Regions from separate parts of the Homo sapiens genome. Here region 1 is linked to region 2. The links are contacts of gene promoters, found by promoter capture Hi-C in human tissues and cell types (Jung and others, 2019). All regions are on one chromosome and are shown on one strand. The core of a region is centred on a gene start or on the middle of the fragment in contact, and the rest is flanking DNA. Distances in the headings are between cores, read along the strand shown.

Region 1 (3,133 bases), core at 345-2,844, 52 kb before region 2:
TCAGGGGCTGATGTATATAAGGCGGGGCCTCACACATTCATCTGAGTGATTGTGCACTGTTTATAATATTTTTTTTTTGAGACAGGGTCTCATTCTGTTGCCCAGGCTGGAGTGCAGTGGCGTGATCACAGCTTATTGCAGCTTCTATCTCCTTGGCTCAAGAGATCCTCCCACCTCAGCCTCCCCAGTAACTGGGACCACAGGCATGAGCCACCATGCCCAGCTAATTTTTATATTTTTAGTAGAGACAGGGTTTTACCATGTTGCCCAGGCTGGTCTCAAACTCCTGAGCTCAAGTCATCCACCTGCCTCTACCTCCCAAAGTTCTGGTATTACAAGCATGAGCCACTGCACCAGCCTATATTGATTTCTATATGAATTAACAAAGAAAATCTTGGCCATGACTACACAGATAGATTAGCAGTGGAAATGATGCTTTCCTAGCCAATGCAAATACTAAATATTAAAACATATGTGGCTGAGGTGGAGACAGAGCGATTACAAGGTATCCTTGTATCATTGACGAAGGAGAATAAAGAGCAAGAGCCAGAGGCCTCGGGATTCCGAAGCATAATCCTGGCTCATTCCCTGACTTTTTTCCTTTACAAACACTGGAAAACAAATAGTGCAGTGAGATTCCCTATCTCAATTCATTGGAACTGACTTGCTACTTCTAGGTCAAGCCAAATGGATTAGAGAACAAACTAGGTAGGCCATAGGAATGTCTACGGGGGATCAATTTTTTTTCTCCTGTGCCATTTGAATTGGGGGCTTGACTGAGCCTTTAGACACTCCATCCAAAAGATGTCTCTTGTGAGGGCATTGGCTTTCTTCTCTAAAGAGAGGTTAACAATATATCCTCTATAACAGAAGTTTGGAGGAATAATTAATAATAATAATAATAAATTGTTCAAAAGCTAAGCACCAATCATGAAAAAAAGTTTATCTTGGTAGCCATTAGCTTTAAGCATGCACTTCTGGCAAACCACCAGAAAAATGCCATACTTTTATCTTGCTGGTGTGTGTGCTTGGAAATAGAGGAATTTTCTTTGGCAGAAAATTCCTAGAAAAATTTTATTTTCAAAGACTAGCCAGTTCTGGGTCAGACAGAGGAAGCATACCACACCTTGTGTCTCCTGCTGAATGCAGTTACAAATCTTGGAAAGAAGGCAGTGAGGAGTAATTTGAGGGCTCCGGGAAATAAGTGCTTTGCAGAAAATGTAAGCCATTAAATGCTTATATTAGAAAAGAAAAAAGTCTCAAATCAACAATGGAAATTTCTCCTTAAGAAAGTAGAAAATAAGAGCAAAATAAAACTAAGCAAACAGAAGAAAAAAAATAAATGGCAGAAGTAAATGAAGTTGAAAACAGAAAAGCAAAACTAGTGAGACAAAAGCTTGGTTTTTTTGGAAAGAGCAACAAAAATGGTAAGTTTTTAGCAAGACTGATAGAAAAAGGAGAGAAAGAGAAAAGAGACAAAAAAGAAACAAATTACCATGATCATAAATGAAAGAGAGGAAATCATTACAAGCCCCACAGACATTAAAAGGATAGCAAGCAATACGACAGGCAACTCTACACATATAAATATGGCAACTTAGATTTAATGAGGTAATTCCTCAAACTATCAAAACTCATCTTTGATGAAATAGATAACCTGAATAGTACTATATCTGTACTTTTATCAAAAAATAAATAAAATAAATAATTTATCTACAAATAAATTTTTAGATAAAGACCTCCTGAAAAAGTAATCTCCAGGCCCAAATGGTTTGGTGGGCAAATTCTATCAAACATTTAAAGAAGAAATAACATTAATTCTACACATTCTCTTCCAGAAAACAAAAGAAGAGGGAACATTTCACAACTCATTTTATGAAGCCAGCATTACCTTGGTACCAAAACTGGGCAAAGACAGTACAATAAAATTTCAGACCAGTATCCTTCATGAACATAGACACAAACACAATCAACAAAATATTTCAGCAACATTCATCAACAAATTCAAATCCAACAATACATTAAAAGGAACAATACACCATGGCAAGGGCAATTTATCCCAAGAATGTAAGGTTTGTTCATCAAAAATGAATCAATGGAACTGTCAAACTATCAGTATGAAGAAGAAAGAAACACATGATCATATTAATTGAAGCAGAAAAAGCATTTGGCAAACTAGAACATGTATTCATGGTAAAAACTTTCAGCAAACTAAGAATAAAAGAGAACTTCCCCAACTCTGTAAAGGGTGTCTACAAAAACCCTACAGCTAACATCCTACTCCATGCTGAAAGACTGAATGCCCCTTAATTCAGAATAAGACAAAGATATTCTCTTCCACCATCCAAATGTTCTTCAACTAATGGATGAATAAATAGGCCGTGGTAGATACATACAATGAAATTGTACTCAGCAGTAAAAAGGAACAAGCTATTGATACACATGACAGCCTGGATAACACTATGCTTAGTAAAAGGAAGCTAGTCTCAAAAATTTACAGATTGTATTATTCTATTTATTTGATGGTCTCAAAAAAAGCACTGGAAGACAGGTCAGAGGTTGCCAGGGATTATAGGTGGGGAAGGTGATGACCACAAAATACAGCATGAGGTGCTTTACTGAGGTGGTAGAGCTGTTCTTTATCCTGATTATGGCAGTGTTCACATGAATCTATACATGTGTTAAAATTCATAGAAATGTACACCAAAAAAGAAAAAAAGCATCCCTGAGAAATCCTTTAGGCCACCTGCATTTGTTCAAACAGGAGGATATGGAAGCCATTTCAGCCAGAATATATTGCTGGGGAAACAAATTCCATGACCTCTCCTGGCGCTAGTCCTAGAACCATCCAGCCTCCTGCCAACCACCACCTTCCTTTTCAGCGTCTCTTTCTCTGCCTCCTTCCTGCCATCTGCATCTCTGTGTGTTCACCTCCAAATCTGCTCCCAGAAAATATTCTTGTGTCAACCACTGGATATGAGTCAGTGAGTTACCTTGTTCCAAGTTGTCTGCATATTAAGTCTTCATTTTAAATACCTAATCAGAGTCTCTCCTTTAAGGGCATTCCAGGCACCTAAGAGCAGAAAGGAGTTGTTTTGGGAAATCCTTCCAGTGCCCATGAAATCACTTATGT
Region 2 (3,235 bases), core at 618-3,117:
TGGTTTTGTTTGTATTTTGGCCAGGGGATGTGGCTTGGACTGGAGAGAAAGGAGATAAGGATGTAAGCACATGTAGGGCATATCACCCCCTATTTTTTATTCTCTGAATCCTTAACCCTCAGAATAAGTTCTTATTCTTGAGAATCAATGACATTATCTTAAGCTAAATTAATCAAGCCTCCACAGTGTTCTTCTCTCAATAGTGGTGTGGGCCTTCCTAGAAGTAATTTTTCCCAAATTCAGTGATACATTTTAAGTTCAGATTTTAATTGATATGAATCTGTGATACACTCTAAAATAAGATTATTTTATTGAAAAGTGGACTGTAACTTTCCCTTTATCTAGGAAGAGCTCTAAGTTAGAAGATGTTTTGCACTTTTACCGAAGGCTGTGTCTTGTAAGCACCCCCGAGCAACTCTGAGAGCCTTGATTTTTGTGTCCTCAGCATATGTTTGTGTAATACAGAAAGAGAAGCAGTTGCCAAGTGAAAGGGATGTTGGTCTCCAAAATTATAGTTTGATCCCACAAACACACAAACACATACATGCAAAGGATTGTTTGCTTCACGGTTTTTGATATTTAATTCAATGCTGTTGGAACAGCACAAAAACTAAGTGTCAGTTTAACAGAATCACTTGTCCTTTTAGCATTAAAATAACATGGAACTTAATGCTTTAATTTCCCAACATGCCTTTTTATTTAGAAAGATTCAGACTTATATTTCATTTAGAAATAAAATGCCATTTTATTTAGAAAGATACAGGAGCATTCATTCACGGAACTTTCAGATCTCAGTCCACTGCATAAAATCTTGATCCTGTAATAATAGTTTCTGTATCTTGCATATTCATTCAACAGGTTTAACGCGATGAGCAAATTAATGTTCATCGTTTTTAACATGTTTCATCTTAATCAGAACCCACATTCTCAACGTTAATTGAACGTACATAGGACTATACAAGGGTTAGTAAATAAGACAGAAACTGTTGTTCATTTAACCACCGTCACTTTGGACCAAAAAAGAAAAAATATATATTTTTAAAATTGAGCTTAAAAGAGTCTCTAGAAGCTGGAAGCGTGGCTCTTTTTCAGCAAACTGGGGGAATAGGTTTACCGTGTTCCCCCTCTGGGGAATTTTGAGTCGCCACACTCATGTCTCGACCGAGCCTGGCTCGCTGCGTCTGAGCGAGTACTTGAGGAAGGCTGATCTAGAAAAACCAGCTGAGAGAAGGGGCAGAAGCCCCTGAAACCACGGGCGGGGGTGGGGTGGGGAGCGCAGCTTTGGGACCCTCTAGCCGGAGACTTCCGGCAGCTGCCTCCGACTTGTTCTAAGTACAGGAAAAATCTGTGCGCCCAGTTGCCTCACTCCAACAGCGCGCAGTTGTGCCCGGCGAGGATGCCGCGCTAGTCGTGGAGATGCCCCACCACAAAGAGGATTCAGGTGCTTCCTACTCCGGCACCCAGTGGGTTGGTAGTCCTGTTGGCAGGAGACAAGAATCGTCTGGGCTGCTCCTATCTCTGGCAGGACTAGACGGGGCGTGAAGGAAAGAAGGAAAGAAGGAAAGCAGGGATCGGGCACTGCCCGAGGGCAGATACTTGGGCTTTGGTGTTGTCCAGCGCGCTCGGAGTGCGCTGCCTCGCTCACGCGGTCCCAGGCCCCGCTTCTTCAGGCAGTGCCTGGGGCGGGAGGGTTGGGGTGTGGGTGGCTCCCTAAGTCGACACTCGTGCGGCTGCGGTTCCAGCCCCCTCCCCCCGCCACTCAGGGGCGGGAAGTGGCGGGTGGGAGTCACCCAAGCGTGACTGCCCGAGGCCCCTCCTGCCGCGGCGAGGAAGCTCCATAAAAGCCCTGTCGCGACCCGCTCTCTGCACCCCATCCGCTGGCTCTCACCCCTCGGAGACGCTCGCCCGACAGCATAGTACTTGCCGCCCAGCCACGCCCGCGCGCCAGCCACCGTGAGTGCTACGACCCGTCTGTCTAGGGGTGGGAGCGAACGGGGCGCCCGCGAACTTGCTAGAGACGCAGCCTCCCGCTCTGTGGAGCCCTGGGGCCCTGGGATGATCGCGCTCCACTCCCCAGCGGACTATGCCGGCTCCGCGCCCCGACGCGGACCAGCCCTCTTGGCGGCTAAATTCCACTTGTTCCTCTGCTCCCCTCTGATTGTCCACGGCCCTTCTCCCGGGCCCTTCCCGCTGGGCGGTTCTTCTGAGTTACCTTTTAGCAGATATGGAGGGAGAACCCGGGACCGCTATCCCAAGGCAGCTGGCGGTCTCCCTGCGGGTCGCCGCCTTGAGGCCCAGGAAGCGGTGCGCGGTAGGAAGGTTTCCCCGGCAGCGCCATCGAGTGAGGAATCCCTGGAGCTCTAGAGCCCCGCGCCCTGCCACCTCCCTGGATTCTTGGGCTCCAAATCTCTTTGGAGCAATTCTGGCCCAGGGAGCAATTCTCTTTCCCCTTCCCCACCGCAGTCGTCACCCCGAGGTGATCTCTGCTGTCAGCGTTGATCCCCTGAAGCTAGGCAGACCAGAAGTAACAGAGAAGAAACTTTTCTTCCCAGACAAGAGTTTGGGCAAGAAGGGAGAAAAGTGACCCAGCAGGAAGAACTTCCAATTCGGTTTTGAATGCTAAACTGGCGGGGCCCCCACCTTGCACTCTCGCCGCGCGCTTCTTGGTCCCTGAGACTTCGAACGAAGTTGCGCGAAGTTTTCAGGTGGAGCAGAGGGGCAGGTCCCGACCGGACGGCGCCCGGAGCCCGCAAGGTGGTGCTAGCCACTCCTGGGTTCTCTCTGCGGGACTGGGACGAGAGCGGATTGGGGGTCGCGTGTGGTAGCAGGAGGAGGAGCGCGGGGGGCAGAGGAGGGAGGTGCTGCGCGTGGGTGCTCTGAATCCCCAAGCCCGTCCGTTGAGCCTTCTGTGCCTGCAGATGCTAGGTAACAAGCGACTGGGGCTGTCCGGACTGACCCTCGCCCTGTCCCTGCTCGTGTGCCTGGGTGCGCTGGCCGAGGCGTACCCCTCCAAGCCGGACAACCCGGGCGAGGACGCACCAGCGGAGGACATGGCCAGATACTACTCGGCGCTGCGACACTACATCAACCTCATCACCAGGCAGAGGTGGGTGGGACCGCGGGACCGATTCCGGGAGCGCCAGTGCCTGCACACCAGGAGATCCTGGGGATGTTAGGGAAAGGGATTGTTTCTTTTCCTTCGCTCTATCCCAGGGCAGGACAGTATCAGGCACTT

The links. The method cuts DNA at HindIII sites, captures the fragments that hold promoters and counts their contacts. A contact is called where the count stands out against the background at its distance.
Region 1: a contact is called between a fragment that was not itself captured here and the fragment with the promoter of NPY in region 2, in 1 of the 25 tissues and cell types used here (hippocampus).

Annotation. Positions count from the first base shown.
Region 1 is chr7:24,230,702-24,233,834 of GRCh38, forward strand. The region is part of intron 2 of LOC107986777 (a long non-coding RNA gene); the gene reads right to left. Among named protein-coding and RNA genes, the nearest start is that of NPY, 52 kb to the right of the region's middle. The HindIII fragment of the contact is 4,172 bases long and covers 1-3,133 here.
Region 2 is chr7:24,282,323-24,285,557 of GRCh38, forward strand. NPY (neuropeptide Y) reads left to right here and starts at 1,868. Exons shown (of 4, transcript NM_000905.4): 1 at 1,868-1,953; 2 at 2,919-3,106. The coding sequence starts at 2,919. All of the region lies in intron 2 of LOC107986777 (a long non-coding RNA gene), which reads right to left. The HindIII fragment of the contact is 14,633 bases long and covers 1-3,235 here.